Regions from separate parts of the Homo sapiens genome. Here regions 2, 3, 4 and 5 are each linked to region 1. Evidence: promoter capture Hi-C in 16 types of primary human blood cells and fetal thymus (Javierre and others, 2016). All regions are on one chromosome and are shown on one strand. The core of a region is centred on a gene start or on the middle of the fragment in contact, and the rest is flanking DNA. Distances in the headings are between cores, read along the strand shown. Region 1 holds the start of ARL5C (ARF like GTPase 5C). Region 2 overlaps LASP1 (LIM and SH3 protein 1). Region 3 overlaps FBXO47 (F-box protein 47). Region 4 holds the start of FBXO47 (F-box protein 47). Region 5 overlaps LOC105371767 (a long non-coding RNA gene).

Region 1 (5,608 bases), core at 1,742-4,241:
ACCTTGGGCTCCTGTCAAGAGATCCTCCTGCCTTGGCCTCCCAAAGTGCTGGGATTACAGGCATGAGCCACAGAGCCCAGCCTCCTCAAACTTTAATATGCAGTTGAATGACCTGAGAGTTTTGTCAAAATGCAGATTCTGACCCAGTGAGTCTGGGCAGGGGTCCAGGCTTTTGCCTTTCTTTCTTTCTTTCTTTCTTTCTTTCTTTCTTTCTTTCTTTCTTTCTCTCTTTCTTTCCTTCTCTCTCTCTCTTTCTTTCTTTCACAGAGTCTCACTCTGTCGCCCAGTCTGGAGTGTAGGTACGATCATGTCTCCCAGGTTCAAGCAATTCTCCCGCCTCGGCCTCCTGAGTAGCTGGGATTACAGGAGCACACCCCCACGCCAGGCTTATTTTTGTATTTTTGTAGAAACGGGGTTTCGCCATGTTGGCTGGGCGAGTCTCGAACTCCTGACCTCAAGTGATCCATCCACCTTGGACTCCCAAAGTGCTGGGATTACAGGCATGAGCCACCGCATCCGGCCACAGTTTTGCTTTTTTTTTTTTTTTTTCCTTGAGATGTAGTCTCTCTCTGTCGCCCAGGTTGGAGTGCAGTGGCACAATCTCAGCTCACTGCAACCTCCGCCTCCCTTTGTCGCCCAGGCTGGAGTACAGTGGCGCAGTCTCAGCTCACTGCAACCTCTGCCTCCCGGGTTCAAGTGATTCTCCTTCCTCAGCCTCCAGAGTAGGTGGGATTACAGGCATGTGCCACCACGCCCAGCTAATTTTTATATTTTTTTAGTAGAGATGGGGTTTCGCCATGTTGGCCAGGCTGGTCTCGAACTCCTGTCCTCAGGTAGATCCACCCACTTCAGCCTCTCAAAGTGCTGGGATTACAGGCGTGAGCCACCTTGCTCAGCCCTTTGTTGTTGTTGTTGTTGTTGTTGTTGTATTTTTAGTAGAGACGAGGTTTCACCATGTTGGCCAGGCTGCTCTTGAACTCCTGATCTCAGGTGATCCGCCCGCCTCGGCCTCCCAAAGTGCTGCGATTACAGGCACTTTGAGAGCAACAGCGCCCGGCCATGGTTTTGCATTCCTAATAAGCTTTCAGGTGATGCCTGTGTGACTGGTCTGTAGACCACACTTTGAGGAGCAAGAGTTTAGAAAAATGAGACAGACACAGTGAGGGACATCAGAGAGGTGCTTTGTTTAAAGTGACATAGAAAATATACACATGCTTTTATATGTAAATAATGCTTCTGAAAAGTTACGCAAAGTTACAATAGGAGGAAAACTAGGAGCCAGAGGCAAGAAGGAAACTTACTTTTCACCGTGTATTCCTCCATTGTTTGAAATTTTCCTTTATAATTTTTTAAAATCATTACATGTATTACTTTTTCATGGAAAAGCTTCTCCTAAGTAAAGTACTTTGGAGGCTGTAAAATGGGAGAGGTGCCATCCAGAGAGCGAATATCGGGGAAAGCTGCGATCGGTATTTACTCAGCACCACCCATATGTGCCAGGCTTGCTAGACCAGGAGCTACAGAGCCTCAGTGAGCCTTTGGGTTTGAAGAAGGGGAAGAAAGTTAACTGGCAGAGGGGACAGGGGTGAGAAAGGAGGGACCTGCCGCTAGAGGGAGCGAAGAGCAGGGAGGCAGTTTGGGACACTTGGCAGGCCTGGAGCTGGGTTTGGCAGGGCCCCCGGGAAGATGGAGGAAAGCAGTGGGAGCTAGGGTTGCCTGTACGGTGCAGGATTTGAATGCCAGACCGAGGAGCCGCAGTACTAGGAAGGTCCAAGCAGCGTGCCCAATCGCTCCTCCGGACTACAGAGGAGCCCGGGAACCCAGGGAAGAGCTCCAGTGATTGGTCCCCCTGCCTGTCAGTCTGGTGGGAGGCCCAGCTCTCTACCCTCCCCGCCCGAGAGTCACTTACAACCGGTAGAGAATGGTGGTCTTTCCTTCATTGTCCAGTCCCACGATGATGACCGTGTGCTCTGGAAGCGTCGGAGGAAGGGCAGCGTCAGGGCCAAACCCGAAGACCAAGGGACTGTGTGCCCCCACCAGACCTCCCAGGAAGGAGATAGCGCTCCCCGCAGGCTGGGGACCTCTGCCCACCGTACCGCGTCTGCTTCCCACCCAGCTCCGACACCTGCCCCACTCCGGGACGGTGGAAAAGACAGCTGAGCCCCCACCTCCCTTCACATTCCAGAAAAGTGTCTGAAAGGCCCGGGGCGCTTCGGGGCTTGCCAAGAGACGGTGTTTAGAGAAAGAGCATAACGCGAAGTCACAATCGCAGGAAACTCGCAGCAGCCCCCCATCCCCGCCGCTGGCTCCGTTTAGCGGGGAGAAAGGAGGGTCGCCCAGCTTTGCGTCCTGGGGCGCACCGAAGCGCCGGGACCCAAGAGGAGCAGGCAGGGACGGGGGCAGGGGAGGCCGCGGGGCAGTCGAGGAGCGCCCATATACGACCCTCGGAGCCCGAGGTCCCCCCGTGCGTCCGACCACAGATCAGAGGAGTCCCAGAAGAGGGCGAGATCAAAGCGCTCGCTTGGATGCCCTGTGCGCCCCTTACCCTGGTTCCCGAAGATGCTCATTAACTTGGCGATCAGCTGTCCCATGGCACTTCCCGGGCCGGACAGGTGCAGGAGGGCTCAGCGGCCTCAGGAGCGGAGTCGGCCCTGGTATTCGGAGCTCCGCTCCCCCGGGAGGGTCTGGCAGATTTTGCCTACGAAGTTAGGGAAGCCCCACACGTCACCAACCTGACCTGGGAACCCTCTGGGACGCTGGCCCTTCGTGGGCACTATGGACACCCCAGTGACTAAGGGCTGCCTGTCCCGGGCCCAAGAGGTGCAAGGAATATGGGGGTTCCAGGCTCCAGCCCTCCCCCTCGCCCTGCGAAAACTCCTGAGTTCTCCGGGTGGACTGCTCCACTACCGCAAATCAGGGGAGACTCAGCACTGCGCGCGGAACCGGATCCCAGCTCTCCCTCCTCTGAGTGCCATGTCTAGGGCACTAGACTGAAGCAAAACCCCAGGCGACCCACTTTCTGTACCTACCAGCTGTGTAGTACAGACAGGGCTCACCGATCCTCTCTGAGCTGGGAGAATATTCCAACCCTCCACAGATGTGCAGTTGGTTCACTAGCGTGGGTCTTGTGGGCCCACTCAAATTGCATTCCCCTGGGGAAGGGCAGGGTCTCCCCTTGATGCTTGGCAACTTCTAGGATAAATCAGTACTCCTACAATTCACGGACAAACCTACTGCCCAGGCACAGCTTCCTGATCCCCAAAAGTGGGCGCCTGAAGACAAGGATGGAGCATGAAGAGAGATCCTCCGGCTGGAGACCCTGCAGAGAGGCCCCAGATACCTGGCAGAGGAGTACATGGGCCAACAGAGAACCAGGAGGCCAGGCCTGAGGAGGGAATGGAAGGTGGAGTTTCCTGCTGTTGCTTGTGAATTTCTTTCTTTGCTTAAGCTGGGGGGAAAAAAACAAAAAATCAGATAACAAAAGGAGAAGTCCAAAAGGCAACGTGCCCTCAGGCTGCAGGAATGGTTAGCAGGAGATCCAGCCAACACACCAGGGAGCCAGCTCCTTCCACCCGACTGTACTGCCTTCCTGCAGCCTCCACTAAGGTAACAACCCTCCATTAAGGTAACAACTTTCTAACTGGTCTCCCTGCATCTTCCTCTCCTTTCCCAAGGCATCCTCTCCATGGCCCCTATTAACCTTCCTAAAGCACAGCTCAGGGTCTGTAACTCCCCCAGCTCATAGATCTTCAATGGCTCCCTATTGCTCACTGGATTCAGATCAGTCTCCACTTGACATTCAAGAGCTTCCACGAACAGCCCCCACCTGCCTTCACAGGTTTATCTCCCAGGCTCTGTATCTACTGGTTCCTGCCTATACATGCCTGGCTCTTTCTGATGGTGCCTTTGCTTCTGCATTTCCTCCTTGAGTGCCTTTCACCTTCTCAGAAAGGAGAATGCCTGAGACCCATTAGCTGCCCTGCCATAAAAGCCACCTGCTTCCCCAGCCCTGACTTGGTTCTCCAGCCACATGGGGCTTCTCCCTACACTGGGCTTATAGACGGGCAAGTCTGTTTCCTCCCATCAACTGTGAGTACCAGGGTGGGATTCATATATTGTTAACCAGCATATGACCTCCCCCGCCAGCCCAATCACTCCCTGCCTGGTCCAGAACCCTGCACACAGGAGGAATGTGTTGCTGTCAGACTGATGTAGAATGAGTTAAGCTACAGCCTGAGAAATGGCACTTGGAGTATTAAAAAAGGAATGTGAACACAAGTTTAAGAGGATTGAGGAAGGCTGGGAAGTTTGCGGGAAGAAGAAGGAAAATAGCTGACTAAATACAGACTTTCATCCCACCCTGCTTGGTGCCCAGAGTTAGAAGGATAGAGTTGACTGCCAGAGCCCATCTGGGCTGATTGCATTTCAGCCTTAGGAGAGAAGGAGCCAAGTCTGGGGCTGGGGGGTGGGGCACCAAGGGTGCTGAGGGAAGCAGCAGTGTCTTAAGCATTTTACCATCTGTTTCCTGGGGTTAGTGGGATGCGGGGAGGAACATCTTAGTGCATGCTGCCCTCCCCACCTCCTCTTTGCAGAATTGAAAGTAACACTCTGCAAGCTGGAAACACATTCAGTAAACAGACAAGGAGAGGGCATCTCTCTGAGCATACTCTGGCTCTGGAAGCTGCCTGATTAAAAAAAATAATAATTAAAAGAGAAAAGAAGAAAAAAAAAAGAAAAGAAAATAGAAAAACAGACGAGAAGATCTGCCTCCACTTTGAGGCCCAGGACCTGGATCTTAAGAAGCATTCATTCGTTCATTCATTCATTTGACAAATATGAGCCAGGAAATACATGAAGTAGACAAAACAGACCTAGTCCAGGTGTTTATGTTTTTGTTTTGTTTTGTTTTGTTTTGTTTTTTTGAGACAGAACCTTGCTCTGTCACCCAGGCTGGAGTCCAGTGGCAGGATCGCGGCTCACTGCAGCCTCAACCTCCCAGGCTCAAGTGATCCTCCCACCTCAGCTTCCTGAGTAGCTGGGAGTAGAGGTGAAAGCCACCACTCCCAGCTATTTTTTTTTTTTTTTTTTTTTTGTAGAGATGGGCTTCGCCATTGGTCTCCAACTCCTGGACTCAAACAATCTCCCGCCTCAGCCTCCCAAAGTGCTGGGATTACAGGTATGAGCCACTGCTCCCATTCCCAGTCTGGGTCTTTATGGAGCTTGTGGTCTAGAGAGAGAGACAGATACACACACACACACCCCTCTGAGAGACAGTAGGAAGGCCTGATTTAGAAAGAAAGCAAGGCACCCTTCTCTGAAGAAAATGAGAGGTGAACCTAGCTGGACTTCCTGGGTCGAGCGGGGACTTGGAGAACTTTTCTGTCTTACAAGAGGATTGTAAAACGCACCAATCAGCGCTCTGTAGCTAGCAAGAGGATTGTAAAATGCACCAATCAGTGCTCTGTAAAAACGCACCAATCAGTGCTCTGTAGCTAGCAAGAGGATTGTAAAATGCACCAATCAGTGCTCTGGAAAATGCACCAATCAGCACTCTGTAAAACGCACCAATCAGCAGGATCCTAAAAGTAGCCAATCACAGGGAGGATTG
Region 2 (5,608 bases), core at 1,205-3,704, 240 kb before region 1:
TAGGGTCTGCAGCCTGCTGGGGCTAAGCGGTGGAGGAAGGCTCTGTCACTCCAGGCATATGTTTCCCCATCTCTGTCTGGGGCTACAGAATAGGGTGGCAGAAGTGTCACCCTGTGGGTGTCTCCCTCGGGGGCTCTTCCCCTAGACCTCCCCCTCACTTACATAAAGCTCCCTTGAAGCAAGAAAGAGGGTCCCAGGGCTGCAAAACTGGAAGCACAGCCTCGGGGATGGGGAGGGAAAGACGGTGCTATATCCAGTTCCTGCTCTCTGCTCATGGGTGGCTGTGACAACCCTGGCCTCACTTGATTCATCTCTGGTTTTCTTGCCACCCTCTGGGAGTCCCCATCCCATTTTCATCCTGAGCCCAACCAGGCCCTGCCATTGGCCTCTTGTCCCTTGGCACACTTGTACCCACAGGTGAGGGGCAGGACCTGAAGGTATTGGCCTGTTCAACAATCAGTCATCATGGGTGTTTTTGTCAACTGCTTGTTAATTGATTTGGGGATGTTTGCCCCGAATGAGAGGTTGAGGAAAAGACTGTGGGTGGGGAGGCCCTGCCTGACCCATCCCTTTTCCTTTCTGGCCCCAGCCTAGGTGGAGGCAAGTGGAATATCTTATATTGGGCGATTTGGGGGCTCGGGGAGGCAGAGAATCTCTTGGGAGTCTTGGGTGGCGCTGGTGCATTCTGTTTCCTCTTGATCTCAAAGCACAATGTGGATTTGGGGACCAAAGGTCAGGGACACATCCCCTTAGAGGACCTGAGTTTGGGAGAGTGGTGAGTGGAAGGGAGGAGCAGCAAGAAGCAGCCTGTTTTCACTCAGCTTAATTCTCCTTCCCAGATAAGGCAAGCCAGTCATGGAATCTTGCTGCAGGCCCTCCCTCTACTCTTCCTGTCCTAAAAATAGGGGCCGTTTTCTTACACACCCCCAGAGAGAGGAGGGACTGTCACACTGGTGCTGAGTGACCGGGGGCTGCTGGGCGTCTGTTCTTTACCAAAACCATCCATCCCTAGAAGAGCACAGAGCCCTGAGGGGCTGGGCTGGGCTGGGCTGAGCCCCTGGTCTTCTCTACAGTTCACAGAGGTCTTTCAGCTCATTTAATCCCAGGAAAGAGGCATCAAAGCTAGAATGTGAATATAACTTTTGTGGACCAATACTAAGAATAACAAGAAGCCCAGTGGTGAGGAAAGTGCGTTCTCCCAGCACTGCCTCCTGTTTTCTCCCTCTCATGTCCCTCCAGGGAAAATGACTTTATTGCTTAATTTCTGCCTTTCCCCCCTCACACATGCACTTTTGGGCCTTTTTTTATAGCTGGAAAAAACAAAATACCACCCTACAAACCTGTATTTAAAAAGAAACAGAAATGACCACGTGAAATTTGCCTCTGTCCAAACATTTCATCCGTGTGTATGTGTATGTGTGTGAGTGTGTGAAGCCGCCAGTTCATCTTTTTATATGGGGTTGTTGTCTCATTTTGGTCTGTTTTGGTCCCCTCCCTCGTGGGCTTGTGCTCGGGATCAAACCTTTCTGGCCTGTTATGATTCTGAACATTTGACTTGAACCACAAGTGAATCTTTCTCCTGGTGACTCAAATAAAAGTATAATTTTTACCTGCGGACTTGGTTTCCTCTCTGGCTCTGAGCTGCTGTTGTGTGTGTCTGTGTGTGGGTGTGTGTCTCTAGCTGTAAGGTGCTGCTGTGTGTGTGTGTGTCTAGCTGTAAGGTGCCACTGTGTGTGTGTGTGTGTGTGTGTCCTGTCTGCTTGGGGGCACTGGCCTGTGGCCCTCCTGGGACCTCTGCTGCCCCTCGGGGAGAGAATGACTTGTCTGGATGCCAAGGGGGAGTTTGCTGCTGTCTGTCAGGCCCTTGGCCCCTACTTCCTCCTTGCTGAGAACTCCCCACCAACCTACTTCTGGCTTTCCACCCGCTCATTCCTCTCTGCCCAACTTGGTGATGCTCCCGGAAGCTTCCCTGAGCTCCGTCTCGTATTACTGTGTCACTTCCTCAGTGACATATCTGTCTCCCCACTAGCCAGAGCCCTTGGGGCAGGTGATGAGTCTAATTCATCTCTAAATCCCGGGTACCTGCCCAGGAGCGGTGCGGAGCTGTTGAATTAATGAATGAGCTTGGCTGGGGAGCAGTTCTAGCACTCTGCCGCTGCCAGGCAGAGAGCAGGAGCTCCACGCATTTGAGGAACGAGATGACAGGGCATTCCACAGTGGGACGGGACCTGGATAAAGCTGTCTGTAAGGTGGCCTGGCAACCCAAAGCACTATTCACAGTGCCTTCTGAATGTAATCTTTAATACACATCCCCTTTCTTCCTTCTTCCTCACAACCCTGTGAGAGAAGTAACTACTTATAGAGGGGCTCACTGAAACCCAGAAAGGCAAAGCAGATTGGTGGCAGTCACAGCTAGTGGCAGAGTGGGGCCTGAGACCCCCATGTGATGCTCACAGTCTGGTGCTGTGCCACCCGGCCATGGCAGGCCGCGTGCCTGTGTCTGTGGCAGCTCTTAGATGTGTGTCTCCTGGGCTCCATGTTTTGCTCCAGGTGCCCAGGGTCTGTGACTGGCCAGAAGGCCAGGCGGCCTCCCCTCTTGCTCATTGGGCTTGGGAAGAGGACAGTGGTAGAGAGGGGAATCTGGCCCTGCTCAGTGCTGCCAATCAGCCTCAGGTCCAGCTGCTTGAGGGGCATTTCTCTCTTGGGGCTCAGAACTAAGGAATTCTCCAGCCTCAGAATCACAGCAGGGTGGAGAGGAGGAGGGCTCTCCTGAGCTGAGCATTTGTAATCTGGAGAATGACATGGCCAGAGTCAGCTGAGCTGGGGCAATGTGGGGAGCATCCAAGGCTGCCCTGGGTGGTATAATTAGAGACAGCACTGACACCTGCTCCCCTCCAGGGGTGCAGGCAGCCCAATACTTTCCCAATAGAAGGGAATTAGTTGGCAAAGCTTGCCTCATGTCGGCCTGCCCCACTCCCCGGGAGGCTTCATTCACCTTCAGATCTATTTGATGGAACAGTGCTTTGGGGGACATTGCTGCCAAGTCTCCACTCCCTGCTCACAGAAAGCTCTGCCTCCTGGAAATGGGCCAATGGGAGGAGTTTCTGGATTTCCTTCTGGCAGTGGCCTAAGTTCCTGAGGTCTTGCATTATGAGGGGGTTACCAATATATCTTAACCCCAGGCCTTTAAAAAAAATATTATTTGGGGTGGGGGCCAAGGAGACTAGGCCTCAGAGACGTCCTAGGGAATGATTTAATTTAATAGAAAATAATTGAGGCTTATAAAAAGGCACAAAAATCCTGGCTAACACAGTGAAACCCCGTCTATACTAAAAATACAAAAAATAAGCTGGGCGCGGTGGCGGGTGCCTGTAGTCCCAGCTACTCGGGAGGCTGAGGCAGGAGAATGGCGTGAACCCGGGAGGCAGAGCTTGCACTGAGCTGAGATCGTGCCACTGCACTCCAGCCTGGGTGACAGAGCAAGACTCCGTCTAAGAATAAATAAATAAATAAATAAATAAATAAATAAATAAATAAATAAAAAGAATAAAATAATTCTCTTTTCCCCCTCAGAAGAAACCACTTGAATTTTTTAAATTTCAGGGATACCCCTGGGGAATTCTTCAGTGTCCTCTCTGTGTACAACACTATGCTGAGCTTTTGGAAGAGGATACCAAAGAAAACAAAACTAGGCCGGGTGCGGTGGTTCACACCTGCAATCCCAGCACTTTGGGAGGCTGAGGTGGGAGGATCGCTTGAGTCCAGGAGTTTGAGACCAGCCTGGGCAAAATGGCAAGACCCCGTCTCTATAAAAAAAGAAAGAAGGAAAACAAAACAGTGGGTAATGACTGCAAAGAGACGAAGGAGTGGGTGGAGGAGGGGTCTCTGGTGCTCGTCCTGTAGGTGGATCGATGTGAAAGCAGTCCACTGCAAGCTGAGCAGTGCACGTGGGGTGTAGGGGCCTTCCGGACCAACAGGGGGAGCAGTGTGGCGCAAGAGGAAGAATATGGACTTTGGTGTCAGCATGCCTAGTTTTGAATCCTGGTCTCTGACATTTTTAATTAATTAATTAATTATTTTGAGACGGAGTTTCACTCTTGTTGCCCAGGCTGGAGTGCAATGGCACAATCTCAGCTCACTGCAACCTCCACCTCCCAGGTTCAAGCGATTCTCCTGCCTCAGCCTCCTGAGTAGCTGGGATTACAGGCATGTGCCACCATGCCCAGCTAATTTTGTATTTTTAGTAGAGCTGGAGTTTCTCCATGTTGGTCAGGCTGGTCTTGAACTCCTGACCTCAGGTGATTCACCTACCTCAGCCTCCCAAAGTGTTGGGATTACAGGCATGAGCCACCACACCCAGCCTTTTACTTTTTATTTTATTTATTAATTTATTTATTTTTGAGACGGAGTCTCGCTCTGTCACCCAGGCTGGAGTGCAATGGCACGGTCTCAGCTCACTGCGACCTCTGCCTGCCGGGTTCAAGCAATTCTTTAGCCTCAGCCTCTTGAATAGCTGGGATAACAGGCACCTGCCACCACGCCCGGCTAATTTTTATTTTTATTTTTTTTTTGAGACAGAATCTTGCTCTGTAGCCCAGGCTGGGGTGCAGTGGCGCGATCTCAGCTCTGCCTCCCGGGTTCAAGCAATTCTCTGCCTCAGCCTCCCAAGTAGCTGGGATTACAGGCATGCACCACCAAGCCTGGCTAACTTTTGTATTTTTAGTAGAGACAGGGTTTCACCATCTTGGCCAGGCTGGTCTTGAACTCCTGACCTTGTGATCCACCTGCCTCGGCCTCCCAAAGTGCTGGGATTATAGGCATGAGCCACTGCGCCCGGCTGGTCTCTGACACATCTAAGCTATGAACCATTAGGGTAAGTTTCTGACCATCTCTGAGCCCCATCTATGAAAGACTCATAGGGAGGTTGAAATTGCACCACATGTACGATATCTGGCCCAGTGTAGGAAATGTATAAATGTTAGCTTCATCCCTCAGGGAAGCCCACTGAGATCCACACGAAACTTTTGTCTGTGTCTCCCCATAATGTGACCTTTAGAAGTTGCCAATGGCCCACCCAATACCCAACCATGATTTTTCTGAGATAATCTGCCCGAGGTGTGTGAGAGGAAACGCGAAGAAGGCAGTCAGGAGGATTCACTCTTGGGGGAGCTGGGTAGGATCCTATCTCCTCCTACATCCAGAGCATGCAGGCTCCATTTAGATACAAAGGGGTGGGATTGGGTTCCTGGGGAGAAATTGAGCCCCTTTGATTCTGCGGTTCTGTGGGTCTAAATCTGGCATCTCCTTGGCTATCCACCCCCAGGCTTTGTGATTGGTTGGCTGTGGTTGGTGGGGGGGCAGGAAGCTGCTGGTGGAGCTGCAGCATCCTTCAGTCTCAGGCCCCTGGGAGGGGGAGGGGAAAGAACCAGGGCTGAGCTGTGGAGTGAAGGGGAGCCATTTCTCTCCACCGACTGCAACCTCCGTGCTCACAGCTCACGGTTCACCAGAATCCAGGGGCTTGGTCGGCCTAGGAATCCACAATGCTGGATATTTTCATCCTGATGTTCTTTGCCATCATAGGCCTGGTCATTCTGTCCTACATTATCTA
Region 3 (5,608 bases), core at 2,200-4,699, 230 kb before region 1:
ATGCATACATACAGGTTGGCTGGTCCCAGATTCTTGAACAGCTAACATTCTATTTTGGTTTGGTGTTAGGTTGACTAAAACCCGGAGAGGCAGAGCTTGTTTTCCAGAGAAATCTCAGCACATTCTTGAGGCTGCCTGTTATTTTTATATTAATAATGATGTACGTAGTTGCTTCTAAAATTCTATCCAGCTTTTGAATTCTTAGGTTACTTAGATGATAAAAAGTCCCATGGATGCTATTTTTTGAGTGAAAAAGTAGCACTCCTCTAATCATTCGTTCAGTGACGTTCTCTAAAGGCAAGGCTTTCTGAGGATTTAGGTAGACAGAGGAGTATTCATGGTCAAATACAGGACCTCCTTATGGAAGTTAGCCTGAGCATGTACAAGATGGAACAAATTCAAAAAGCTTCTGTCATCTTCATCACGGTCTCCTATATGCCATACATAGTGGGGAAAAGAAAATGACAGTTAAAATGTTAAGTATATAATTTATTTTATTAATTAATTTAATTTTTGAGACACAGTCTCCCCCTGTTGCTTAGGCTGGAATGCAGTGGTGCCATCTCGGCTCACTGCAACCTCTGCCTCCTGGGTTCAAGCAATTCTCCTGCCTCAGCCTCCCGAGTAGCTGGGATTACAGGCATGTACCACCACACCTGGCTAATTTTTGTATTTTTAGTAGAGATGAGGTCTCTCCATGTTGGCCAGGCTGGTTTCAAACTCCTGACCTCAGGTGATCCACCCGCCTTATACGTATATAATTTATTTGAAACATAAGATGTTCTAATTTTCCCTAGTAATATTTATTTATTTATTATTATTTTTTGAGACAGCGTCTCCCTGTGTCGCCCAGGCTGGAGTGCAGTGGCACAATCTTGGCTCACTGCAAGCTCCACCTCCTGGGTTCAAGCGATTCTCCTGCCTCAGCCTCCCGAGTAGCTGGGACTACAGGCGCCTGCCACCACGCCCAGCTAATTTTTTTGTATTTTTAGTAGAGACGGGGTTTCACCGTGTTAGCCAGGATGGTCTCGACCTCCTGACCTTGTGATCCACCCGCCTCGGCCTCCCAAAGTGCTGGGATTACAGGCATGAGCCACCTCGCCCAGCCTTCCCTAGTAATATTTAAACAGGAGACTTTTTGTTAGTGACTTTACTAAGTCAAGTTAACTACTGAAATCATGGAATTATATAAGAAAAGTAGATTAGAAGTCAGAAGAAAAGGATGCTCATCCATGCTTTATTGCTTCTAACTTTGAGACCTTGGTAAGTCAGGTAACTTCTCTAAGCCTTAGTTTTCTCATCTGTAAAATAGGGTTAATTATCATGTTGGTTACTTAATAAAGCTGTAAAATAATATTTACAAATATATTTTTATGCTAGTGACAGTTGGTAAGTGAGCAAGTTAAATTTTTTTGCTGTGCAAAATTGAAAGTGGTTCCTTTCAAAGCAGACTCTTCAACTTTATATTCTCCATTAAAACCAATACCAGATTTTTAAAGTGACGAAAGCCAGGAACTAAATATATTGCAAGGAAAAACAAACAAAAGTCCGCTTCCTCTACTTATTGTTAGTTTTTATTTTTTAAAGTCAACATAGAAATAGCTTTTTTTTTTTTTTCCATTCTTGGACTGTTAGAGAAAAATATCTCTGTTTTAGGTGGAGACTAGAGCGCATTTTTACGCACACCTGTGCACCAAGTACATTCCTACTCACCAGACATAATTGATTGCAGCATTTCCATTATAACACATGCAAATGCATTTGCCACATTCTGCAGGAAGTTCTTTCTTTCCACTGGAGTGCTAAAGACTTTGCAGACTTTTTGCATCATTTTAACTGTCCAATCCATGCAGTACAGTTCTTTCTCACACACCTGATTTAGACATATAAAGCGCTATAAACCTTCATGTGAAGAAAGCTATAGAATTTGAAAATGGTGAACAATGATGAATAATTATAGTTTGTGATTTTACATAATTTATGATACCTGACACCATACTGAGTCTATACATGGGAAATGCTCTTCTATCTAATACTATTTTGCTTTCAAATGGTACAATTTTAATGGGAAAAAAGTATGAAGTAAATACAAGCCTAATTTAAGATTATCATAGAAGAATATTTACTAATGAAATAACTAATATTGAAAACAGGCCAGGCACGCTGGCTCATGCCTGTAATCCCAGAACTTTGGGAGGCCAAGGTGGGCAGATCACCTGAGGTCAGGAGTTCGAGACCAGCCTGGCCAAAATGGTGAAACCCTGTCTCTACTAAAATACAAAAATTAGCCAGACATGGTAGCGAGCACCTATAATCCCACCTACTCAGGAGGCTGAGGCAGGAGAATCACTTGAACTCAGGAGGCGGAGGATGCAGTGAGCGGAGATCATACCACTGCACTCCAGCCTGGGGGACAGAGCCAGACTCCATCTCCAAAAAAAAAAAAAAAAAAAAAAAAAAAAAAATATATATATATATATATATATGTATTGAAAACAGTTACTGAACATAGAAAAAAAATTTCTGCTCATTTACTCATTCAATAAACATTTATTGAGCACCTGCTAGGAGCTGAAGATACAATGACAAACCATAAAGACATGGCTCTATTTTCAAGAAGTCCAATGAAGGTGATAGACAAATGGGCAATTTCAATAAGCAAGAGAATTCTATGGTATTGTCGACTTTCCATCTTGAGAATTTTAGGGAATATTTGTTTCTTCATTATTGAAAAGATAAATATTTAAAGATTACATGTTCCTAGCTAAAACTGACTGAAAAGTAAAAGGTTTCTTTTTTTTTTTTTTTTTTTTTTTTTTGAGACGGAGTCTCACTCTGTCGCCCAGGCCGGACTGCGGACTGCAGTGGCGCAATCTCGGCTCACTGCAAGCTCCGCTTCCCGGGTTCACGCCATTCTCCTGCCTCAGCCTCCCGAGTAGCTGGGACTACAGGCGCCCGCCACCGCGCCCGGCTAATTTTTTGTATTTTTAGTAGAGACGGGGTTTCACCTTGTTAGCCAGGATGGTCTCAATCTCCTGACCTCATGATCCACCCGCCTCGGCCTCCCAAAGTGCTGGGATTACAGGCGTGAGCCACCGCGCCCGGCCAAGGTTTCTTTACTAACATCCTTAATTGCCAATCTAACTCACATAGCCAAATAAATAATGCATATTATTAAAATAAACTGTATAGTAGTGTAACTAAATAATAGCACTGTGATAGGAAAGATCTATTGACTATTTATTATGTGTAAAGCACTGTATTATGAACTATGAAAGAAATAAGTGACACAGTACTGGATTTCAAAGAGCTTGCAGTCTATTTTGGGAGATGACCTACTCCACACATACAGTGGCTTAAGGACACTAATAGTAGATGAAGATAGAGAAGACAAATCAGAGGTAATTCAGAGAACTTTAATGATCAGAATTGACATGTTAATCAGAGAAGGCTTTCTAGAGAAGGCTTCCCCACCCCTAGTGATTTTCTCTTCATTACATTTGCTATAGTGCTGCCAAAATGATCTGCCAAAAACACAAAGCCAATTATGTCTCTCCCCTTCATAAAACTTTTCAGTAGCTCCCTATTAGAAAATGGGTTCAAGCTCCACAGAATGGCCCACAAAACCCTTCCTTACCTAGCCTCTCCCTTCATGTCTAACCTCACCTCCTGCTACTCTTCTGCAGATTCTACCCTTCAGAAATCATACTGAACTGCTTACAGTGTCCTGAATACAGTCACATGATCCCATTTTTCTTCTGCCTTGAATAATCTGCTGCCACCCTCTATCTGCCTGGTGAACTCCTACTTATTCATTTACTTATTTATTTTTTAGAGACAGGGTCTCCCTCTGCTATGCAGACTGAAGTGCAGTGGCGTGACCATAGCTCACTGCAGCTTCAAACTCCTGGGCTCAAGTGATCCTCCTGCCTCAGCCTTCTGAGTAGCAGGGACGATAGACACACACCACCACACCCAGCTAGTTTTATTTTATGTTTTGTAGAATTGAGGCTTTCCCTATATTGCCCAGGATGGTCTTGAATTCCTGGCTTCAAGTGATCCTCTGGGCTCAGCCTCCCAAAGAGCTGGGATTATAGACATGAACCAATGCACTCAGCCTTTTATTTAAGTAATTTATTTTTTGAGATGAGATCTCATTCTGTTGCCCAGGCTAGAGTGCAGTGGTGCTATCTTGGCTCACCACAGCCTTGACCACCCAGACTCAAGTGATCTTCCCACTTCAGCTCCTGAGTAGCTGAGCTCACAGGCACGCATGCCACAACTCCTGGCTAATTTTTAAATTTTTTATTATTTATTTATTTATTTTTTTGAGACAGCATCTCACTCTGTCACCTAGGCTGGAGTGCAGTGGCATGATCTGCTCACTGCAACCTCCGCCTGCCAGGCTCAAGTGATTCTCCTGCCTCAGCCTCCCGAGTAGCTGGGATTACAGGCACCTGCCACCACACCTGGCTAATTTTTGTATTTTTAGTAGAGTTGGCATTTCACCACTTTGGCCAGGCTAGTTTCGAACTCCTGACCTCAGGTGATCCGCCTGACTCAGTCTCCCAAAGTGCTGGGATTACAGGCATGAGCCATCATGTCCGGCCAATTTTTAAACATTTTTATTATAGAGACAGGGTCTTGCTGTGTTTTCCAGGCTGCTCTCGAACTCCTGGGCTCAAGAATCTCATAATTTATGGCCCATAGTAAGCACTCAATACAAATTTGTGTTAAATGAATATTAAATAAATATAATATTATATATATATATATATATATATATGTATGTGTATATGTATGTGTGTGTGCGTGTGTGTGTGTATTGAGAGGGGAGAGGGTCTCGTTCTGTTGCCCAGACTGGAGTACAGTGGCACAATTTTGGTTCACTGTAACCTTAAACTCCCAGGCTCAATCAATCCTCCCACCTCAGCCTCCTGAGTAGCTGGGACCACAGATGTTGCCAACACACCGAGCTAATTTTTGTATTTTTTTGTAGAGACGGGTTTCGCCATGTTGACCAGGCTAGTCTTGAACTCCTGGACTCAAGTGATCCTCCTGTCTCAGCCTCTCAAAGTGCTGGGTTTATTACAGGTGTGAGCCATCCCGTCCGGCCTAAATATATTTTTAAGACTTTTTATTTTGAAACATTTTGACTATACAAAATTAGAGAGAATAATATAATAAACTCCCAGTACTCATTTCCCAGTTTCAACAATTATCAATCTTATTTCAACTCTATCTCCATTTACTCCCAAGTCCTCTCCCCAACCCACCCCCACAGTGATTATTTTGAAGTAAATCAAATGGGATGCTTTTTTTAACATGGAATTTTTTTTTAAAAAGAATATAACTTAGCAGAACTGTATAATGAAAATCCAGACTTGAAGTGGGGAGAAGTTAATAGAAGGGATGATTCCAAATATTATAGTTTATGACATGTTTTAATATTAGGCCAGGTGTGGTGGCTCACACCTGTAATCCCAGCACTTTGGGAGGCCAAGGCGGGCAGATCATGAGGTCAGGAGTTCGAGACCAGCCTGGCCAGCATAGTGAAACCCCGTCTCTACTAAAAACACAAAAATTAGCTGGGGCATAGTGGTGCATG
Region 4 (5,608 bases), core at 2,182-4,681, 200 kb before region 1:
AAAAAAAAATTGTTTTTGTGGAGGCAGTGTCTGCCTGTGTTGCCCAACCTGGTCTTGAACTCCTGAGCTCAAGTGATCCTCCCACCTCAGCCTCCCAAAATGCTGGGATTATAGGCACAAGCCACTGTGTGTTAATAAGACTAGAATAAATACATGAATAGTAATAATTCTTCCCTCAATTCCACCTTCTGTTAATAATAGCTACTGGCCGAGTGACGTGACTCACCCATGTAATCTCAGCACTTTGGGAGGCGGAGGTGGGTGGAACACCTGGGGTCAGGAGTTTGAGACCAGCCTGACCAACATGGTGAAACCCCGTCTCTACTAAAAATACAAAAATTAGGCTGGGCCCAGTGGCTCATTCCTGTAATCCCAGCACTTTGGGAAGCCAAGGCGGGTGGATCACCTGAGGTCAGGAGTTCGAGACCAGCCTGGCCAACATAGCGAAACCCCGTCTCTACAAAAAATACAAAAATTAGCCAGGGATGGCAGTGTGCACCTGTAATCCCAGCTACTTGGGAGACTGAAGCAGGAAAATTGCTGGAACCTGGGAGGCGGAGGTTGCTGTGAGCCCAGCTAATCTGAAGGCTGAGGCATGAGAATCGCTTGAACCCGGGAGGCGGAGGCTGCAGTGAGCTGAGATCATGTCATTGCACTCCAGCCTGGGGCAACACAGTGAGACTTGGTCTCGAAAAACAAACAAACAAACAAACAAAAAATAACAATAATAATAATAGTCACTGATGAATCTTAGAAAGGGCCTACGCATCTTGATTTCAAAGACAAATATTTCTTAAACTCATTAAATGCAACTTATTAAAATCACTGATTATTTACTTACACTAAATAATTTTTTTTTTAGACAGATTATCGCTCTACTGCCCGGGCTGGAGTGCAGTGGCATGACGCGATCTCAGCTCACTGCAACCTCCCCCTCCCAGGTTCAAGTGATTCTCCTGCCTCAGCCTCCCAAGTAGCTGGGATTACAGGCGTGTGCCACCACTAGTAGCTGGGATTACAGGCGTGTGCTACCACACTCAGCTAATTTCTGTATTTTTAGTAGAGACGGGGTTTCACCATGTTGGTCAGGCTGGTCTGGAACTGCTGACCTCAGGTGAGCCACCAGCCTCAGCCTCCCAAAGTGCTGGGATTACAGGCGAAAGCCACCACGCCCGCCCATTACACTAAATAATTATTTAAACATGTGTACCACACAGCGACTTTGTGTCACTCTATTGTTCTAATTCAGAAAACAATGTCTTTTGTGTATACATATACATATACGCATAATTACAACTCCAATCGAAGGCTCCTTGTTTCTGAAGTAACAACTAAGACATTTTCATCAAAGATATATAATTGTATCTGGCCAAAATGCATTTTCTCCTTTCTACAAATTGCTAAAGTAACATTGTTACTTATACATCTTGAAATGTTACATATCAACTTACATCAATTTAAAATTGGTTACACATTTGAAAACATAACAAAGAAATTTAGTGTTTAGTGAAAAGTACACTCTGAACCTCCTTTGAAACCATACCACAGCGATTGGGGTCAGTATTCAGTGAACACTTAAATTAGGAGGTATTTTAAAATTATCATTAAAATTACACAAATAGGCCGGGCATGGTGACTCACGCCTTAATCCCAGCACTTTGGGAGGCTGAGGCCGGTGGATCACGAGGTCAGGAGATCGAGACCATCCTGGCTAACACGGTGAAACCCCTTCTCTACTAAAAAAAAAAAAAAAAAAAAAAAATTAGCCGGGCATGGTGGCACGCGACTGTAGTCCCAGCTACTCTGGAGGCTGAGGCAGGAGAATCGCTTGAACCCGGGAGGCGGAGGTTGCAGTGAGCCGAGATCACACCACTGCACTCCAGCCTGGGTGACAGAGCAAGAATCTGCCTCAAAAAAAAAAAAAAATAATTACACAAATAACAACTTTACACAATACAGCTAAACAAGAAGAAAAAAATTAAGTTCACTTATAAACACTTTGGTTTATATAATTTCAGACTTTTACATACATATATTTCTTTTTAACAAAAAAGAGGGATCACTATATATAATACTTTGTAATCTGCTTTTTTCAATGAATTCTCTTTCCATGCTAATAACCTTCTACAAGTAATCATATTTTAATGGCTATGTGTCATTCCACCAAGTAAAATAATCTTAATTTGTTTAATCCATAAGGCTGTTTGTAACCTTAACTTTTCACAGTAGGCGTTTTGTTTGTTTGTTTGCGATGGAGTTTCGCACAGTCTCCTGGGCTGGAGTGCAGTGGCGCGATCTCGGCTCACTGCAAGCTCCGCCTCCCGGGTTCAAGCGATTCTCCTGCCTCAGCCTCCCTAGTAGCTGGGATTACAGGTGCCCGCCCCCACGCCCAGCTAATTTCTGTATTTTTAGTAGAGACGGGGTTTCACCGTGTTAGCCAGCCTGGTCTCGATTTCCTGACCTCGTGATCCGCCTGCCCCGGCCTCCCAAAGTGCTGGGATTTACAGGCGTGAGCCACCGCACCCGGCCAACACAGTAGGTGTTTTAAAGCATTTTTATTACAATAGCATAAATCCGGCCTTGGCTTCTTCCTGTTTCTCTGAGAAATGTGGACAGTGGGGCTTGGGCCCGTGGGCTCTTCAAAGACTGTCAGTCACCAGGCGGGGACTTCACTGTGTCAACTGTGAACTACATACATGTTTAAAATAAATATAAACAAAAATTTAAAAATGATAAGCCCAAATTCTTCTAAAACTCAAGTCTCCACTTATAGTTCCTTATTTTCCTCACTCAGAGCTGGACGTTTCGTAGGGAAAAAGCAAGCTTTTGTGAAAATTCTAAAGGTATAATCCTAAATTATTTCTGGTTTCCGCTCACCCCTCTAGCGAATAAGAATCACAGCCCCAAATAATAATAATAAAATGATGTTTCATGCCCCCTGTTCTATCCCACTAATTTTGACCGCGCGTGAAAGGTTTTGAGGGTTCAATTGGATGAACCTCCCCGCCCCCCACACCTTTAAGATAAAAACTACATTCACAGGGATGTCTGTTTTAACATAAAACTCTTGTAAGGGCCCCACCCCATCTGTCGGGCAGCTGCCCCCAAACATCTCCAAAGCCGCAAACTAGGGAAGCCTAAAGGACAAACTGGTCAACAGGAGAATCAGACCACACGGGGTACATGTTTCGCTCCCTTCAGTCCATGAAAGATGAAATTATCGCAATAAAATACTGGGAAAAAAAACCCTCTTTTACCACAGATTTTGACAGTTTTTCCGGCTACAGAGTCACAGGAAAGTGGGAGTTAGTCGTTTTGCCCCACCATCCTCAAATTTCTTAGTGTTTAGAAAAGAAAATATCTCCTCAAGAGCTTCCCGCCAGGAGGCGAGAGGGTCACACTCCCGTAGGCTCCGGAGCTGCAGCCCTACCCACCAGGCGTCCCCGCGGCCTCTAGAATATTGTAGAATCTTCCCAAGAGCCCCCGCGGGAAGGAGGCCCGCCCCCTCATGAATAGCAAGCAGCCTCAGCTCTCGTAGTGCCCGCCTCCCTCATGAATATTGTAGATCTTCCCAGAAGCCCTAGCGGGAAGGAGGTTCCCCCCCGCCTCCCGCCTCCCCGCTTTATGAATAGCAAGAGAGCCAGCTCCCATGGTGCCCTCCGTCTCATGAATAACTAACAAGGGCGAGGTTCCTGGAGCCCAAACTCAGGCCTCAGCCACCCTTCGCTCCAAGCTGAAGACAAGAAGGGGCTGGAGCCGTTACGGTGTGGGGAAGGGGAGGGTGTAGCCCAAGATCCTGAACGTGGCGAGCCACGTCTCTGCTCCACTGCCTTTCCCTTCACCTAGTTTTGAGACAATTTTTGAGTTCCTCCCACCCCCACTGACTCCAGTAGGGCAAGTTACAAGGGGTTTCATCAAACCTTTTGGTGGAAAAAAACCTCCAGACATTCCTTTTTAAATTTGTCTTGCCGGTGCGGTGGCTCACGCCTGTAATCCCAACACTTTGGGAGGCCGAGGCGGGAGGCTCCCTTGAGTCCAGGAGTTTGAGACCAGCCTGGGCAACATAGGGAGACCCCCACCCCCAGCCATAACCCCGCTCCCGGTCTCTAAATAAACACATAAATAATAAATCTGTCTGGAATCAAAGGAAGATGTGTGTCTCCATCCTCTCAAGATGAAATCAAGACAAATCTTTCTAGCTAGGCCTTCCTGGCTAGAAGATTAAATTCTCATTCATTCATTTCTTCATTCATTCTGTAACTATTTATTGAAGCCTGCTCTGGGCCGGGCACAGGAGTAGGCCCTAAGGATGGAATAGAGAACAAGACAGATACGTTTCCTGCTTTAATGGAGTTTATTAGCCTAATGGGGAAGATAGAATGAACAGACAGAGCATCTACAGATGTTGAGAGCAGTTCCGGTGAGAGCAGCGTGACAGAGGAAATAAGACAGAATGATGGGGTGTGTGTGTGTTGGCGGAGAGCTACTTTAGATAGACTGATACTCAAGGTCCCTTTGATATGACGATTTGAGAACTGATGGAGGAGAAGGAGCCAGTCAGGAGAAGGGCTGAGGGAAGAGGGAATGGGGGAAAGATTCTACTTTTGTAGATCAATTCTACATTATACCCAACACAAAATATATAAGGAACTACATAAAGACTGAGTGGAAATTTAGGATTAGTTGGCATGCTGTTATTTTATATAGTCACATATATTCATCCATTTGGCTTTGTATCTTTTTTTTTCCTGACCTCAGGTGACCTGCGTACCTCAGCACTGCAAAGTGCTGGGATTACAGGTGTGAGCCACCACTCCTGGCCTTTTTTTTTTTTTTTTTTTTTTTTGAGACAGAGTCTTGCTCAGTCGCCCAGGCTGGAGTTCAGTGGCACGATCTCGGCTCACTGCAGCCTCTGCCTCCTGGGTTGAATTGATTATCTTGCTTCAGCCACCCAGTAGCTGGGACCACAGGTGGGCACCACCATTGTATTTTTAGCAGAGATGGGGTTTCGCTATGTTGCCCAGGCTGGTCTTAAACTCCGAGGCTCAAGCGATCTGCCTGCCTCCCAAAGTGTTGGGATTAAAGGTGTGAGCCACCGGGCCCAGCCCTGGCTTTGTATCCTTTTGCAGCCAATTCTTTTTTTTTTTTTTTTTTTTTTGAGATGAAGTCTGCCTCTGTTTCCCGGGCTGGAGTGCAGTGGTGTGATCTTGGCTCACTGCAACCTCCACCTCCCAGATTCAAGTGATTCTCCTGCCTCAGCCTCCCAGGTAGCTGGGATTACAGGCACCCACCACCATGCCCAGCTAATTTTTTTGTATTTTTTAGTAGAGATGGGGTTTCACCATGTTGGCCAGGCTGGTCTTGAACTCCTGACCTCAGGTGATCCACCCACCTCAGCCTGCCAAAGTGCTGGGATTACAGGCTTGCGCTACCGTGCCCAGCTGCAGACAATTCTTTTTTTTCCCCCTGTCTCCAACATTGATTAGAGGTCCTTGACCAAGTATCATCCCGTTGGCAGTGGGCCAGACGCACATAATGGAAACAAGGATCCTTAGTGGTGAGAATTTAGCTTTTACTCAAAGTGTCATGGGAAGTGTCATGGGAAGTC
Region 5 (5,608 bases), core at 1,640-4,139, 160 kb before region 1:
GAGAGCTGCAGCAACCCCCAGCTTTGTGGGGTTAACAAGCAAACCCTGAGAGCCATCTCCACCAGCAACAAGGGTCCCGTGTTAGGGGCAGACGTCCCTGAGCAGTCAGGGGAAACCTTGCACTTATCCAAGAGCACAAATAGGACCAAAGCCCCCAACACGCCATAAGGGCCATCAGCAGCATCATCGCGAGGAGGGACTGCAGAGTAGAACCCATCGTGTGGCCTCTAGAGTCCATAGTACATGGCTGGGTAGAGCAAACTGCTCACAGTTCTGGGGCACATTCTACATCTCACATGCCACCAGCTCCTCCCCTATGCTTTCCTGATTTTCTCATCACACGTTGATGCTACTGCTTTTCCGTATTGCCCCTCATGACATCTGCTGTGGTATTTGGTACCTTTTGCCTAGGAGATCTACTTTTTTTTTTTCTTAGACGGAGTCTCACTCTGTCGCCCAGTCTGGAGTGCAGTGGTGTGATCTCGACTAATTGCAGCCTCCGCCTCCCGGGTTCCAGTGATTCTCCTGCCTCAGTCTCCTGCGTGGCTGGGATTACAGTCGTGCGCCACCATGCCCAGCTAATTTTTGTATTTTTAGTAGAGACGGGGTTTCACCATGTCGGGCAGGCTGGTCTCGAACTCCTGACCTCTGACCTCAGGTGAACTGCCTGCTTCAGCCTCCCAAAATGCTGGGATTACAGGCGTGAGCCAGCGCCCCCGGCCAAGATCCACTTCTTTGTGTACCTTTTTTTTTTTTTTTTAAGAGAGAGGATCTAGATCTGTCACCCAGGCTGGAGTGCAGTGGCATGATCACAGCTCACTGCACTCAACCTCAACCACCCCAGTTCAAGCTCTGCCTCAGCCTCCCTAGTAGCTAGGACTACACGTGCACACCACCATGCCCAGCTAATTTTTAACATTATTTTTGGTAGAGATGAGGGCTCACTATGTTTCCCAGACTGGTCTTGAACTCCTGGGCTCAAGCGAACCTCCTGCCTCAGCCTCCCAAAGTGCTAAGGTTACAGGCTTGAGCCACCGTACCTGGCTCTTTGTGTACTTTTGTCTCATCCACCCTAACTACTAAACTCCCAAGCTTGTTAGGACAGTGATCACAAGCCCTGGAGCATGGGAGAAGGAGATTACTAAGTATCCGTGGACTCCAATGCAGGGAGATTTCTTCCATGGCAGGATAGGGGAGGAACCATAGCCTAGTCTTGGTACTTTCCAGGGTGACTCTCAGGGTGGCTTACACACACACACACACACACTCACCCACACTCACACACTCTTTCTCTCACTCTCTCTTAAGAAATGCTGCTGATTGATAGGTTTAGCCTCTGAAGGGAGTATCTTCTCTTCCCTACTATTCCAGCACAGAATAGAATTTTGAACCAAATGGGAATCTGAACTACAAGAATCTAATCAAAATTTTAAAACCTGAGTGTTAGGTTCTTGGCACATCTGAAAGCACCTAGCTTAATGTCTGAGACATAGGTATGTTCAGAAATGTGAATCTTATCACACACACACACACACACACACACACACACACACACACACACACACCAGGGAACCATGTAACAGGTTCTGAGACAGCACAGCCGGTTACATCTGGTTTCCAGTAGGCATGCCTTTCTTTCTTTCTCTTTCCTTTCCTTCCCTTCCCTTCCCTTCCCTCCCCTCCCCTTCCCTCCCCTCCCCTCCCCTTTTTCTTGACAGAGTTTTACTCTTGTTGCCCAGGCTGGAGTGCAATGGCGCGATCTCAGCTCAGTGCAACCTCTGCCTCCCGGGTTCAAGCGATTCTCTTGCCTCAGCCTCCCGAGTAGCTGGAATTACAGGCATGCACCACCACACCTGGCTAATTTTGTATTTTTAGTAGAGATGGGGTTTCTCCATGTTGGTCAGGCTGGTCTGGAACTCCCGACCTCAGGTGATCTGCCCGCCTCAAGTGCTGGGATTATAGGTATGAGCAGGTTTTCTTTATGGATCAATTGATGTTACTTAGGGGTAACATGCAGAATAGCTTGTTCCACGGGGCAAGGTGGACAGATCCTTGTGATTAAGGGGCTGCCCAGTGGGCATTCCTGGACTCAGCAGACAATGACTATGCCCCACCCACCACGTTATGCTAAAATGCCACAAGACATCCGAAGAAATGCTTTCTTCCTTTGGGGGTAATGCAAATATTGCCATTTTTCTGTTTCAAAGAACAACAAGACATTTTCTTGGTAATCTCTCACCTAAAGATATTATTTTGAGGGGGTTAAGAATGTCTTTATCTTTTAGAGACACATGTTGAACTGTTTATGGGTGAAATGACATGATATCTAATTTTCATTAAAAATGACTTAATTGGCCATGCGTGGTGGCTCATGCCTATAATTCCAACACTTTGGGAGGCCGAGGTGGGTGGATCACCTGAGGTCAGGAGTTCGAGACCAGCCTGGCCAACATGGTGAAACCCTGTCTCTACTAAAAAAAAAAATACAAAAAGTAGGCCGGGCATGGTGGCTCATGCCTGTAATCCCAGCACTTTGGGAGGCTGAGGAGGGCAGATCACCTGAGGTCAGGAGTTTGAGACCAGCCTGGCTAACATGGTGAAACCCTGTCTCTACTAAAAATACAAAAATTAGCCGGGCGTGGTGGTGGGCGCTATTCTGGAGGCTGAGGCAGGAGAATCACTTGAACCCAGGAGGAGGAGGTTGCAGTAAGCCGAGATCGCCTCATTGCACTCCAGCCTTGGCAACAAGAGTGAAACTCCATCTCACACACAAAAAAAAAAAATTAGGGAGAAGGGGGAGATGCAACAAGAGTGGCCCTGTGTTGATGGTTATTGTAACTTGGTGGCAGATATGTGGTGATTCATGGTACTAGTTTGTAGAACTTTTGTGTATATTAGAAATTTGCCATAACAGAAATTTTGTTTGTTTTTTTAGAGCACAGATTTTAGAGCAGAACAGACCTGGGTTCAAATTCCCTCTGGGTTCAAATTCCTGCTGTTTTGTCTGGGCAACCTTCCTATTTAAGTCTTCTGAACCCTGTTTCCGCGTTTGGAAAACACTCATAAGAATAATTCTCAGTTCACAAATTTGTTGCAAGTATACAAAGCACTTAAGGCATAGCCTGGAACATGATTGGCAATCAATAATCCTACGATAGCTTTACTTGAGCCTGACCATGCTAGCTATATAAACTGTACAGCTATGGTTTGAATGTCCCCTCCAAAACTCATGTTGAAATTTAATTGCCATTGTGATGGTTCTAAGAAGTAGGATTATTAAGAGGTGATTAGGTCATGAGGACTCCACCCTTATGAATAGGTTAATGTTGTTATTGCAGAAGTGGGTTTGCTATTGAGAGGGCAGGTTGTTATAAAAGCGAATTTGGCCCTCTCTTGCTTGCTCCTTCTCATGCTCTCTTGCCCTTCTGCCTTTCACTATGGGATGAAGCTGCATAAAGGACCTCACCAGATGCTGGTGTCATGCTCTTGGACTTCCCAGCCTCCAGAACTGTGAGCTAAGTACACATCTATTCCTAGTAAATTTCCCAGCATGTGGTATTCAGTTATAGTAGCATAAAACAGATGAAGACAACGACTTTTGGGATCAGCCTGCAATCATGGTTACTGGCAGAAGGCTGGCCTGAGGTACAAGTACAAATTATATACTTCAGACCCTTTACTGAAACTCCTGGAGGGCATTTATTTTATTATTATTACCTTATTTATTTTTTAGAGACAGGATATCACTCTGTCACCCAGGCTGGAATGCAGTGGCACAATCATGGTTCATTACAGCCTCAACCTTCTGGGCTCAAGTGATCCTCCTGACTTAGCCTCCAAGTAGCTGGGACTTCAAGTGCATCCCACCATGCTCAGCTAATTTTTAGCTTTTGCAGAGACTGGGGGGTGGGTCTCTCTATGTTGCTCAGGCAGGTCTTGAACTCCTGGCCTCAAGCCATTCTCTCATCTTGGCATCCTAGTGCTGGTATTATAGCTGTTTTGAGCCACCATGCCTGGCCTCTTTTATTATTTTTCAATGTGGAAAGTAGAGATGAGAGAGGACAGGGGCAATGGTGGGGTTTGTTCCTGGGTTCACAGCTCTGCTGTCACTGTGAGGGAGCTACAGAGGTGGGGAGGGGCAGACCAGGAAAGCAGACCCCTGAAATACAATGTCATTTGCAGATCCAGCCTCTTGTTTTCCATCCTGGACATTCTTCCATTACCAGGCAGCCAACACTTCCCAGGCTGTCCTGGGACTCGCAGTTCTGTCTACCTGGGCACAGTTTCAGGCTCCAGCTGGCAAGGCAGCCCCATCACTTTCTGCAGAGGAGCATGTGCTGGAATAGGAGACAGTGAGATCACAGGAATTCATTAGCATCCCATATTCATTTTCTTTTCCTTTCTAGGCCTTCTCCCCAACCCTCTACCCGACACCCACCTCAGTCATTTTTTTTTTTTCCCTTAGAGTAGCTGGGGGAATCTGTCAAAGCCAGTTCAGGAGCTTGCCTTTTCTGGTGTCTTTTCTAAAACTACGGCATTCAGCCCTCACCAGATGGGAACCTATCAGCTCAGCAGGCAGATAATTATTCTTTCAAGGGTGGGAGGCCCTACCATGAATGGAAATTCAGGCATTTCTGCAGCTGAGGCCCCAAAGCCCCATCATGGAAGCAGTGCACATACAGCAGACAAGCTTTACCTGGGCAAGTCTGCAGGAAGTGCTGGTCAGTGGAGGTGCGAGGAGTGAGATATAGGATGGATTCGTGTTCCCTTCCCCATGAAGCAGTGTGGAACCCACTGGACCCACTCCTGAAGTCTCTCCTTAGGGACCAGTGCAAGCCAGCCCAGTTTTGGTCTGGCTGAAGGGGGTCACCTCCTCTGTGAGGATCCAGAACTCAAGATCAGATATTAGGATGCACAGATTTCTCCTCATTTGATGGAGGAAAATTCTAATAACCAGCTGCCAACAGTGGAGCATGCTGCCAGGAAGGTAATGAGCTCCCTGTTGTTGGAAGTATTCAAGCAGATGCTGGCTGGCCACCTTCCAAGGATATTGCAAAAAGAAGACCTGACATGAATGAGAGTTTGCCTCTTATGTCCTCCAAAGTCTCTTTACCTTTATTGGTTCTCATGGTGTAAAGGGTGAACTTGGAGTCACCATAGGCCCAGGGTTCAAGTCCTGGCTGTACAGCTAGCTGGCTAGATGGCCTTGGGCAAGACACTTAATTTCTTTATGAAATTATATAGGTATATTTTATTTTTCTGATAATGGGTGATAATTATAAAAAAAAAATTTATTGGCCAGGTGCAGTGGCTCGCACCTGTAATACCAGCACTTTGGGAGGCCAAGGCAGGTGGATCACAAGGTCAGGAGACCGAGACCATCCTGGTTAACACGGTGAAACCCTGTCTCTACTAAAAATACAAAAAAATTAGCTGGGCGTGGTGGCGGGCGTCTGTAGTCCCAGCTACTTGGGAGGCTGAGGCAGGAGAATGGCATGAACCTGGGAGGCGGAGTTTGCAGTAAGCCGAGATAGCGCCACTGCACTCCAGCCTGGGCGAAAGAGTGAGACTCCATCTCAAAAAAAAAAAAATTATTATGGACACTTTC

Evidence for each region. The method cuts DNA at HindIII sites, captures the fragments that hold promoters and counts their contacts. A CHiCAGO score of 5 or more calls a contact.
Region 2: a contact is called between a fragment that was not itself captured here and the fragment with the promoter of ARL5C in region 1, in 9 of 17 cell types (naive CD4 T cells, M0 macrophages, non-activated CD4 T cells and 6 more). The highest score is 8.7, in naive CD4 T cells.
Region 3: a contact is called between a fragment that was not itself captured here and the fragment with the promoter of ARL5C in region 1, in 6 of 17 cell types (naive CD8 T cells, non-activated CD4 T cells, total CD4 T cells and 3 more). The highest score is 7.2, in naive CD8 T cells.
Region 4: the fragment with the promoter of FBXO47 here is called in contact with the fragment with the promoter of ARL5C in region 1 in 16 of 17 cell types (naive CD8 T cells, M1 macrophages, naive CD4 T cells and 13 more); the score reaches 10.5 in naive CD8 T cells.
Region 5: a contact is called between a fragment that was not itself captured here and the fragment with the promoter of ARL5C in region 1, in 8 of 17 cell types (total CD8 T cells, non-activated CD4 T cells, naive CD8 T cells and 5 more). The highest score is 7.6, in total CD8 T cells.

The regions. Positions count from the first base shown.
Region 1 is chr17:39,163,170-39,168,777 of GRCh38, forward strand. ARL5C (ARF like GTPase 5C) reads right to left here and starts at 2,992. Exons shown (of 6, transcript NM_001143968.1): 1 at 2,546-2,992; 2 at 1,910-1,970. The coding sequence starts at 2,591. RefSeq lists enhancers at 1,819-2,620, 2,621-3,422. The HindIII fragment of the contact is 4,701 bases long and covers 1,385-5,608 here.
Region 2 is chr17:38,920,154-38,925,761 of GRCh38, forward strand. It overlaps LASP1 (LIM and SH3 protein 1), which reads left to right. Exons shown (of 7, transcript NM_006148.4): 7 at 1-1,617. It overlaps LASP1NB (LASP1 neighbor), which reads left to right and starts at 5,461. Exons shown (of 2, transcript NM_001414697.1): 1 at 5,461-5,608. The coding sequence starts at 5,541. RefSeq lists an enhancer at 1,846-2,456. The HindIII fragment of the contact is 985 bases long and covers 1,963-2,947 here.
Region 3 is chr17:38,936,860-38,942,467 of GRCh38, forward strand. It overlaps FBXO47 (F-box protein 47), which reads right to left. Exons shown (of 11, transcript NM_001008777.3): 10 at 1,714-1,873; 11 at 1-431. The coding sequence ends at 316. Among named protein-coding and RNA genes, the nearest start is that of LASP1NB, 14 kb to the left of the region's middle. The HindIII fragment of the contact is 6,090 bases long and covers 405-5,608 here.
Region 4 is chr17:38,963,972-38,969,579 of GRCh38, forward strand. It overlaps FBXO47 (F-box protein 47), which reads right to left and starts at 3,432. Exons shown (of 11, transcript NM_001008777.3): 1 at 3,258-3,432. The HindIII fragment of the contact is 5,025 bases long and covers 2,822-5,608 here.
Region 5 is chr17:39,005,366-39,010,973 of GRCh38, forward strand. LOC105371767 (a long non-coding RNA gene) reads right to left here. Exons shown (of 3, transcript NR_188621.1): 3 at 3,681-4,337. Among named protein-coding and RNA genes, the nearest start is that of LINC02079, 19 kb to the right of the region's middle. The HindIII fragment of the contact is 3,598 bases long and covers 1,091-4,688 here.